Linked DNA regions of Homo sapiens: all the other regions are linked to region 1. The links are contacts of gene promoters, found by promoter capture Hi-C in blood cells and fetal thymus (Javierre and others, 2016). All regions are on one chromosome and are shown on one strand. Each heading gives the region's core, a stretch centred on a gene start or on the middle of the fragment in contact. The rest is flanking DNA. Distances are from core to core; before and after follow the strand shown.

What was found. Contacts are between HindIII fragments. The CHiCAGO score rates a contact against its expected background, and 5 or more counts as called.
Region 2: a contact is called between a fragment that was not itself captured here and the fragment with the promoter of IGFBP3 in region 1, in 1 of 17 cell types (total B cells). The highest score is 5.0, in total B cells.
Region 3: a fragment that was not itself captured here is called in contact with the fragment with the promoter of IGFBP3 in region 1 in 14 of 17 cell types (M2 macrophages, M1 macrophages, monocytes and 11 more); the score reaches 19.6 in M2 macrophages.
Region 4: a contact is called between a fragment that was not itself captured here and the fragment with the promoter of IGFBP3 in region 1, in 2 of 17 cell types (M1 macrophages and M2 macrophages). The highest score is 6.2, in M1 macrophages.

The regions. Positions count from the first base shown.
Region 1 is chr7:45,919,902-45,922,601 of GRCh38, reverse strand. It overlaps IGFBP3 (insulin like growth factor binding protein 3), which reads left to right and starts at 1,330. Exons shown (of 5, transcript NM_000598.5): 1 at 1,330-1,864. The coding sequence starts at 1,462. RefSeq lists enhancers at 366-946, 947-1,527. The HindIII fragment of the contact is 8,094 bases long and covers 1-2,700 here.
Region 2 is chr7:47,014,213-47,016,912 of GRCh38, reverse strand. The region is part of intron 2 of LOC105375268 (a long non-coding RNA gene); the gene reads left to right. Among named protein-coding and RNA genes, the nearest start is that of SNORD151, 450 kb to the left of the region's middle. The HindIII fragment of the contact is 758 bases long and covers 956-1,713 here.
Region 3 is chr7:47,102,369-47,105,068 of GRCh38, reverse strand. No RefSeq gene overlaps it. Among named protein-coding and RNA genes, the nearest start is that of SNORD151, 360 kb to the left of the region's middle. The HindIII fragment of the contact is 9,690 bases long and covers 1-2,700 here.
Region 4 is chr7:47,037,648-47,040,347 of GRCh38, reverse strand. All of the region lies in intron 2 of LOC105375268 (a long non-coding RNA gene), which reads left to right. Among named protein-coding and RNA genes, the nearest start is that of SNORD151, 430 kb to the left of the region's middle. RefSeq lists an enhancer at 470-1,252. The HindIII fragment of the contact is 444 bases long and covers 1,175-1,618 here.

The DNA of each region.
Region 1 (2,700 bases), core at 81-2,580:
TTCACCCAAGGCTTCGTGCTGGAGGGGAATGGAGGAGCTCCTGATTTGCTATTACTACTCCAAACTGCAAAGGGCTCCTTCAAGTCACCTATCCACCTCCTAAGGCAAGCGTCCAATTTCAACAGCGTTCAGGAAAGTCTCCTCCCGCGGAGGTCTCACCGCTTCCCACTCCACCCCCACAAACTCTTTGGAAAAGTGCCTTGAAAAATTTAATCCTCAATCCAATCCTGGACCACCAGCGTCCTCTGTTGGTCACCGAAGGGAGGGGGTGCGCAGACAAAACTGAAGAAACTCGAGTGCCAGAGAAGGCCGACAGGAGTTACAGCGACCTCAGCGCGCAATTGCGCCCCCGAACTTTACTGAAAAGTGTTTAGATTGCAGAGATAAGCTAGAATCCCAACGCATCGAGAATACAGTAATACGAAGTCGCCTTCAAAAAATGACAATGAAAATTGCCTATTAAAGGACTATTTGGTTAATTACGTTTCAGCAGTGCCCAGTTTATTGTCTTTATTATTCTTTTGTCATGGGTGTAAACTCCATTTGAAAACATAATCAGGGAGAATACCCAAGACAAGAAGAACAGTTGTCATTTAAAATATTTGAAAAGCCCTGCCTTAAGGACGCATTCGCTTGCCGGTCCACTCTTAATTGGAGACTTGCGGTGTAGCAACACGTGAGAGTCTTCTTGCGTTGAGAAGTAAGCCTGGAAAGGGGCGAAGGCCCCGGGCGCATCTTCAGATGCGTATTTGTGGGCCCCTGGGGATATAAACAGCCCAGCGGGTGTAAATTAAACCCCGCAGTGCCTTGGCTCCCTGAGACCCAAATGTAAGTCAGAAATGTCCCAAGACTTCGCCTGCCAACGGAATTAAATTTTAGAAAGCTCCACGAGGTACACACGAATGCGGAGCGCTGTATGCCAGTTTCCCCGACACCGGCTCGCCGCAGGGAGACCTCACCCCGAGAGCGGAAGGGGTAAGGGCGGCGGGGTCAAGGAGATCGGGGGTGCTGAGTTGGCCAGGAGTGACTGGGGTGACCGGGGGTGCTGAGGTGGCCTGGAGTGCCGGGGTGGCCGGGCACACCTTGGTTCTTGTAGACGACAAGGTGACCCGGGCTCCGGGCGTGCGCACGAGGAGCAGGTGCCCGGGCGAGTCTCGAGCTGCACGCCCCCGAGCTCGGCCCCGGCTGCTCAGGGCGAAGCACGGGCCCCCGCAGCCGTGCCTGCGCCGACCCGCCCCCCTCCCAACCCCCACTCCTGGGCGCGCCGTTCCGGGGCGTGTCCTGGGCCACCCCGGCTTCTATATAGCGGCCGGCGCGCCCGGGCCGCCCAGATGCGAGCACTGCGGCTGGGCGCTGAGGATCAGCCGCTTCCTGCCTGGATTCCACAGCTTCGCGCCGTGTACTGTCGCCCCATCCCTGCGCGCCCAGCCTGCCAAGCAGCGTGCCCCGGTTGCAGGCGTCATGCAGCGGGCGCGACCCACGCTCTGGGCCGCTGCGCTGACTCTGCTGGTGCTGCTCCGCGGGCCGCCGGTGGCGCGGGCTGGCGCGAGCTCGGCGGGCTTGGGTCCCGTGGTGCGCTGCGAGCCGTGCGACGCGCGTGCACTGGCCCAGTGCGCGCCTCCGCCCGCCGTGTGCGCGGAGCTGGTGCGCGAGCCGGGCTGCGGCTGCTGCCTGACGTGCGCACTGAGCGAGGGCCAGCCGTGCGGCATCTACACCGAGCGCTGTGGCTCCGGCCTTCGCTGCCAGCCGTCGCCCGACGAGGCGCGACCGCTGCAGGCGCTGCTGGACGGCCGCGGGCTCTGCGTCAACGCTAGTGCCGTCAGCCGCCTGCGCGCCTACCTGCTGCCAGCGCCGCCAGCTCCAGGTGAGCCGCCCGCGCCAGGTGCGCTGCGTGCAGCACCCGGCGCACTGGCGCCGAAGGGCCTGGGGGTTGCTGGGTGCCGCTGCGGGAGACTCCGCTTTTCTTCTCACTGGAGATAATATGTGGGGAAACTGAAGGCGCTCCGGGAAAGGTGAAGGCGGTCGCCGGAGGGACCCTCCCCAGCCGGCCCTCTACTTGCTCGATTCTCTAAGTGCAGAGTACTTGTAAATTGCAAAGCGCTTTCAGTGAAAATGGGTTAAAGGTTTCCGGAGCTGAGGGGAGCGGTACCGATGTTTAGCTGTTGGAAAGATCCTGGACACAGGAGATTCTCCTCGCCCCGCACGGGGGTGCACACGGACTGCAATCCCAGGGATGCTTGGGGATGGGGGGGATATAGGCGGATTTGGACCAAGGAAGGTGGGCAGGCACGTTGTAGGAAATAGTACCTCTCTTTTAAAATACTGACTTTGCACAGCCTTTTGGTTTGCAAAGCAATGTCTAGTCCCGGTATGTCCAAAAACAAGTAAAGTGGATTCGGGTTTTGATATCTTCTGCGGTTGGAAAACCTGAAGCTGAAAAAGAAGTAACTTCTTAAGGTTACCCAGCGGCCACAACAGAGTGTAGGTTTGAACTCCGCGTGCCACTTTCAGTACCATACCATTCTTACAACTCGGGCCACCCCTGCACCTGCGCCGACCTCAAACAAACTTCCAGGTGCGTGGTGGGTGCGGGCAATGTGGACTAAGTCAATTTCAATGACACGGAAGGGAATTGGAATCAGTCCTAGGGCTGTCTCCCTTCTTAATCTGAAATGGGGGGGGGAATGAGATGTTGTTAAG
Region 2 (2,700 bases), core at 85-2,584, 1.1 Mb before region 1:
CTTGGTTCACTACTACCCCTGCCTCCTGAGTTTAAGCAATTCTCCTGCCTCAGCCTCCCAAGTAGCTGGGACTACAGGTGTGCACCACCATGCCCAGCTAATTTTTGTAATTCTAGTAGAGATGGGATTTCATTATATTAGCTGGGCAGGTCTTGAACTCCTGACCTCAACTGATTCTCCTGCCTCGGCCTCCCGAAGTGTTTGGATTACAGGCATGAGCCACTGCACCTGGCCTGATTCCAGGTCTTTAGATAATAACTCTTTCAACCAATTGTCAATAAGAAAATCTTTGAATCCATCTATGACGTGGAAGCCCCCGTTTCCAGTTTTCCCACGTTTCTGGACCAAAGCAATGTACATCTTGCATGTATTGATTAATGTCTTGTCTCCCTGAAATGTATAAAACCTAGTTGTAACCCAATCACCTTAGGCACATGTCATCAGGACCTCCTGAGGCTGTGTCACAGGCATTTCCTTAGCTTTGGCAAAATAAGCTTTTAAACTGATTGAGACTTGTCTCAGGTACTTTTTAGTTTACAATAGGATATATAGGCTTTCTTTCCATTGTCATCTCATTGATTATTTCCTCCTAGACATTGCTAAGGTTTTTGCACTGATATCTGCTTTTAGGCATAAGTTGATTAACTGAGATTTTAGGTCAATCTTCTAGATATGAGAATAGTGTGAGAAGGCTGAGTGTTTGCTAAAAGAAAGAAAGTTATCTTGTGAATTGAGGCTATCTTGTGCACTATCAAGCCCACATGTGTAGTTAATATGGATAGAGAAGGGGAGAAAGTGAGAGCTTGGATGAGTAACCCATAGATCATTCCATGAGACTAAGCTTTATCTATTTTTTTCTATCTTGAGCAAACCTTTTGCTTTAAATACTGTTTCAGAATAACTAGGATGCATCTTACATTACACAAGACAAACTGGTTGTATGCATGATGAAGCTTCATTCTCCCTCCTACTTCCAACAAATCCACTTATAATTATTCTCTAGGATGTTGCCTGATTATTGTTGTGAGATTGAAAACTACATACAGTTGTATGGGAAGACCTCATCTCCCATGTGTGTCCATGATTTACATTGTGAAGGCAAAGTCAGCCTCACTCAGAATGAGAAATGTGCCCCCAACTTGATGGCCTTTCTCTTATGCTATAAAGCAAGGGGAGAAAAGATTCACACTCTTTTTTTCTTTGAAACAGAGTCTCACTCTGTCACCCAGGCTGGAGTGCAGAGGCGTGATCTCAGCTCACTGCAACCTCGTCTCCTGGGTTCAAGAGATTCTCCTGCCTCAACCTCTTGAGTAGCTGGGACTACAGGCACCACCATGCCTGGTTACTTTTTTTTTTGTATTTTTAGTAGAGACAGTGTTTTGCCATGTTGGCCAGGCTGGTTTCGAACTCCTGACCTCAAGCAATCCACCCGCCTCACCCTCTCAAAGTGCTGGGATTACAGGCATGAGCCACTGCACCCAGCAGATTCACACTCTTCGTAAGATTATAGATGTCATCCTATTATGCTTAGTCTGTATGTAAATGCCTGAATGACTTATTACAGAGTCTTTCTCATTCTGGGTTACTGTATTTTTACTTGACTTTAAAAATAATAACTCACTTTAGGATGCCAAATCTTTTTAAAGGAGACTATATGTATGTTGGTGACACCTTAAGAGAGGAAGTAAGAGGGAAAAGATGAGCCTGAAAGCTTTTGTGTGAGAACCCGGCAGCTTCCTGCTATCCAGCTAATTATTGTTCTTGTGCACACGGTTACTGACTTCCTTTCCTAACCATTTCTTATAACCCGACTACTAGAACTTCTCAAAGTGTTGTTTCTATTACACAATTAGTGTTCATTCAATCAAGCAATACTTTGGGAAATAGACTGAGGGAGGGGTTAGAATAAACTGTCTACTCTAAAGGTTGTGCCTTGAAAATTCGTATTAAACAGAATAATCATTGTTTGAAACTTTTGTAGGAGATGATTCTTTCAATGGCAGATCTTTAGAGACCCATATAAAACCAAAAATTTGTTCTTTTGCTTTATGGCCAATAGCAGCACATCACAGCTTCAAAAAAACAACACATATGATCTAGAAAATCCATCCAAAAAAAATTTCCGTAGACAAGTAAACACTTACTTATTGCCAGATACAAGCAATAGCATTACGGGTCCTGAGAGAAGTTCTGGGTCACTGAAGAATGGGTTATATAATGTATCTGAAAGAAACCTTCAGAAACCCTACCATAGTGTACCGCCGCCTCCCTCGTGTTCCAGCCTTGAAGGCGGCTACCAGGGGTCCTGCCCACAACTGTTTCACCCTCACCCCAGCCCTCAGGGAGCCTTCTTCCTCATGCTCCCCTCCTATCTTACTGGATCATCCTGTGGCCTCTTTCACAATCCTGGTTCTTTTTCTCAGAGTGTGTCCCTCATTTTTGCCACTGTGGAGGGGTTTAGCTTTCCTCAGTTTCTTGAGTGAGGTTACCTGCACAGTTAAATAAATGCTGGGCAGCCCAACAAACACCAAAGAGAAGGATCCTGAGAAGAAAAAAGAGGAATAGATACAAATACCTGGACCTTAACTTTATTTTCATTGCAGTGCATTGAATCACATTGCGTTATGTTAACTGATAGGATGCTACCTTTCATATGTCAAGCTATACTGATATCCTGCCAATTCAAAGAAGAGGTGGATA
Region 3 (2,700 bases), core at 196-2,695, 1.2 Mb before region 1:
GGCCATGAGCAGTGGCTCATGCCTGTAATCCTAGCACTTTGGGAGGCCAAGGTGGGTGGATCACTTGAGACCAGGAGTTTGAGACCAGTCTGGGCAACATAGTGAGACGCTGTGTCTAAAAAAAAAAAAAAATTAGCAGGGCATGGTTGTGTGTGCCTGTACTCCCAGCTACTCAGAAGACTGAGGAGGGAGAATCACCTGAGCCCAGAAAATGGAGACTGCGGTGAGCCATGATCATGCCACTGCACTCCAGCCTGAGCCATAGAGTGAGACCCCGGCTCAAAAACAAAAACAAAAACAAAAACAAAAACAAAACAAAAGAATCTGAGTCTGTGTGTGCAATTGGAGGTGATATGTGGGAGTAGCCAGGAGATTCCAGAAAAGAAAATACTGATTTTTCTTAAAGATTTGTTTTGGTTTTAATTCAATTTTTAGAATATATTTTAAAGATAAAAATTTTTATTGGTTTTAAAAATGACTTATTATCAATAGTCTTGTCTATCAGGAGAAAGGGGAAAAATTAATCTATTTATAGCAAATTGTGTTAGGTTTTATAATTCTGTTATTCCAGAGGGTAAATGTGTATCAAAGGCATTGGAGTCATGAGGACCCAGGTTGATCTGCCATGTGCTCAGCATGATTTTTCACTCTGGGTCTCCATTGCTTCATCCTGACAGTGGAGCTGGCAGTGTTCACACGGCAGAGTGCTGGGGGAGGGAGGCAGAGCTCCTGACTGCTGCCGGTAGGCTCCCAGGGATCTAGGCTCCCTCCCTCCTCCAACCAGAGGTGTGAGCAAGAGGCAGAGTAAAGTCCTACAGCCCCTTTCCCTGGATGCGGGGTCTCGGCTGTGGGCAGATGTAGGAGAGGGTGGGCTTCCTTCTGCTGCCCTCTCCCCTTCCGCGTGGGGAGACAAGAGGGAGAAAGCACACCCTGATCCCCAGGGCACCCCGGTTAAGGAGCGACCTCTGACTGAGGCTGTCCACAGAGGTAGCAGCCGTGGCCTGTGGGTGTCATGGGCTCATCAATCTCATTGGCTGCTGCTCTTCCTCTAGGGGCGTGACCAAGATGAGGAAGATGGATACTCGCTCCACCCACCACACAACCCTGCAGGCAGGAGAGCAGAAACTCCTTCCACTGAGGGCTCTGTGGAGTGGTGTGGCCCATTGGTGAAGCTCGGGAGGCAACCTGCTTGTGTTTAGTCCTGGTCCTCCCTCATCAGAGGTATGACCCTGGTAAAGACCAGCCCTCCGGCATCTCAGCGATCCTGGCATCAGAGGTTGCTGGGGTTGTTTGGAGGCTGTGTGAGTGAATGCACGCAAGCCCGCAGCCCTGAGCCTCAGTCGTGGGCAGCGCGCAGTTCATGGGGAGCATGAGGATGAGGGAATCCCTGCCCTAACCCTCAGTATGGGCACAGGTGAGGTACTCAGTTCACGTCAGTAGCTATTGCTGTTATCAATACCTGTGCATTTTAATAGATGTAAAATGTGTGCTGAATTTTAAAATGGTAGGTGCACAATATTATTTTTATAATTGCTTCCGAATATTTAACAGGGTTAACACCTATTAAATATTTGACGAGAATGTATCTCACCAAAATTTGAATTAAATACCTATGTTTGGCTGGGCACGGTGGCTCGCACCTGTAATCCCAGCACTTTGGGAGGCCGAGGCAGGCAGATCACGAGGTCAGGAGATCAAGACCATCCTGGCTAACACGGTGAAGCCCCATCTGTACTAAAAATACAAAAAATTAGCCGGGCGTGGTGGTAGACGCCTGTAGTCCCAGCTACTCGGGAGGCTGAGGCAGGAGAATGGTGTGAACCCGGGAGGTGGATCTTGCAGTGAGCCGAGATTGGGTCACTGCACTCCAGCCTGGGTGACAGACAGAGTGAGACTCCATCTCAAAAAAAAAAGCCAAAAAAAAAAACCAAGAAAAACCCACACCTTTATTTATGTGTAGCAGAAATAGGTAATTTTTTTTTTTTTGAGATGGAGTCTCACTCTGTTGCCCACGCTGGAGTGCTATGGAGCAATCTCGGCTCACTGCAACCTCTGCCTCCCGGGTTCAAGCAATTGTCTTGCCTCAGCCTCCCAAGTAGATGGGTCTACAGGCATGTGCCACCACATCCGGCTAATTTTTGTATTTTTAGTGGAGATGGGATTTCACCATGTTGGCCAAGCTGGTCTCGAACACCTGACCTCAGGTGATCCACCCGCCTCAGCTTCCGAAAGTCCTGGGATTACAGGTATGAACCACTGTGCCCAGCCAGAAATAGGTAATTTTATTCATAAGAGACACACTTGTTAGGTCCTAAGGAGGCTCTGAGTTATTGGTGGTAGCTGAGTGACCTGTCTAGAGGCTGTGGACTGCAGGGTCCACACTCAAGGGGTGTCAGGCTTGGGGCACAGAGCTGAGCCTGGGCACAGAGACCATGAGCAAAAGAGGAGCCAGTGGCATCTGAGGTGGGTCTGGCCAGGCCACGGAGCTGCAGGAGATGAGATGGAAACCAAGTGCTGGAATGGAGCCAGGTGGGGTTTTTAAAATTTGCTTGTGTTTAATGCTGCTTGCTTCATTTCTACCAGGGAAAAGAGGAATTGCAAGCCGGTTATTTATCACTTTCTTCCTCTTTTTAAAAAATATGTAGCTTAAAAATTACTCTAGTAGTAACTCGTAAATAACTCATAAATAAGTACCTTTTG
Region 4 (2,700 bases), core at 147-2,646, 1.1 Mb before region 1:
GCCTATATGGAACTAATTTTTTTTCTTTTATACTATGTGTCTCCTAAATTTGCTCTTATGAGCATGCATTACTTTTTGTTTTAAATAAAAACAATGTATTTTTTTTCAAAAGCACTTTGTCCACCATTTCACATTTATGACCCTTAAGACTTTCTAAAAGTTGGACTGCAATTTAAATAAAAATAGCCACAGCCAAGACAATGGGCATTTTTCCTCTCTGGCAACCACACAATGAGAATGCATTTGATACACAGCCCAGAACATTCCGAGTGAACTAACAGCAGGAAACACACTCAAGCTGAGATCATTAAAAGTTACTAGATGACAATTTGTTCTAAGTTTTGAAAATTAACCCAGCAAATATGATTTGGCCACAAGAGGAAAATATCAAAAAATCACCTAAACCCAGCTCTTCCAATGTTGAACAATCTTTTGCTGTTGTTTGAATATAGCCCAGATGTCTGCATTTTGTTCTTATGTGACTTTACAGAGGGCCCCAGTCATAGCAAAGAAGTTCCTACAGCTCGCTGAGAGCTGGGTGCACCCCAGGTGCCCTGCTGGGTATTTTTAATGTGGTGTTCTTATTATCATAGCAATCTTGCCACACAATACAGGTGTTGTTTTCTTCTTTTATAAAAGAGAAAGCTGAGGTAGACTGATGCTAAGTAACTTCTGAGAGGGTTGTGGTGACAAATGAAAGAATGAAGGTAAAATGCCCATTTCAATGCCTGGGGCATGGTAAACATTTAACAATGTTAACTGGTGTAATTAACAAAGGCAACATTCTTGGTGGGTCATGCCTGCGAGGGACCTTTCCACAACAGAGCCCTGAGATGCGAGATGTGTGGTCAGCAGGGCTCCTGAGCAGGGATTCCCACAGATATAATTTACTTCTTTGAGGCTAGGGGCCATGTGAATGGGAGCCGAGTTCCTACCTGTTCTCCATGGTGGCTGCTTTAAGACAAAGGCCAGCGAGAATCTGATATTGGGGAAAGAGCTTTCACATCAGGAAAGGAGTTAGCAGGCAGAAAGGCAGAATGATTTCTCACTTGGAAAAAGTAAACAAGAACTACAGGACACCATGAGTTCCTGGGAGGGAAAAGGGTTGGAACTACAGATGTGCAATAAAGACCCAAACACCCACTGAGTGCGACTTCTAGCCTTCCAGAAAGCTTCATGTTCATGATGATGTCCCCTGGGGCCACCCGTGGCTGGCTCAGCCTCTGTTCCTGATTTCCTTTTCATTGCTCTCAGGCTCTCTGTCCTCAACACAAATCCACATCTCACCCACTCTGTGCTCAGGTAGGAAAGCACCAAAGGAGATTGAAATAGTCTACTTAAATCTAGTGTCTGTTGCTGATGTTCTTTCCAGAATATTTTCCCATTCTGATCTACGCAGCAAGTCATAATGAAAAGGTGGCATGTGTCCATCTTCCTCAACTTGACCTAGAGTTTGGAGAACGGTAGCCCAGGGATTTACGTAACCTGTAGGCGGCTCACGGCGAATCCACCCTGCTTCTTTGTGCAGATTACAGCAAGCATCCCCCTGGGGAAGCACAGCACTGCAGGCAGGTGCTTCCTCCTCAAGGCAGACCTACCCTGCCCCAGCAAAGAAGCTTGAATTTTAGCTCTCTCTCCTCTCTTTGGCCAGACACCCTGAACAAAAACAGTGCACAGCCTATGCAACTGTACATACTGACCTTAGGTGGTAGAAGCCTGAATTATTAAAAGAAGCAGGATGAATTTATGTGAATAATAACAAACATTTTTAAAAGAGACTGAGGGAAAGTATTCCTGGATGTTTCAAGAAACCTGAAGCAGATTAACTTTTTCCACCTAAACATGTTGCTGACCAAGTAACACAACACATGATCTTAAAGATAAATGGACCCCCACTGGCCCTCCTGATTAATTCACATATTCATTCCACATTCACCTACTGTCTGCCTGGCCCTGTGCTGGCATTGAGGATTCAGGGACCAATGTGGCAGCCGCTGTACTTGTGAAGCATCTCACTTAACCTGGGGCCCATGGACATGACATCTAAGGACATGTATGTGAGTAAGAGTGAGTGCGTGTATGTGTGTGTGTGCATTTTCCAAGAATGGAAAGATTTCAGGAGATTTTAAAGAGATAAGAGGGACAGGGGAAGGTAATTAACCCTATGAGTTCAACAACAAAACTGACATCCAGATGAGCCCACAGAGTAAAAACAGAGCAGGAAAACAATTTGGCACACAATGTTATCTTTCTTGTTCCCATCCCTTGTGGTAACTTTTCTTTTGCTAATAGAATAGAAGAAAAAGATGGAAAGAGTCAGAAAGAACAGAAACATTGATATTCAACCATTTGAAACAAGAAAGAAACTCTAAGCACAGAAGGCAAAGAGGTGAGGGTGGAAGAAATGTTATAAAGCAAACGGCATGGAGTATAGCACACATGCACTTACACACACCCACATGACTGCACAGAACGAAAAAGGCGTGTAATACCTCCTTCCCATGGCTTAGCACATGTATATATGTGCATGCACATGTACAGAAAGAAAGCACGTGGCACACACTCGGTATGTCTTAGTACATAATTACATGCATGCACACACTGAGAAAAAAGGCATGAAGCACCCCACACATATGCACACACACACATATGTCTACATAGAAAGGGGAGAGCATGCACACAGCCCTTCTTGTTGCATTT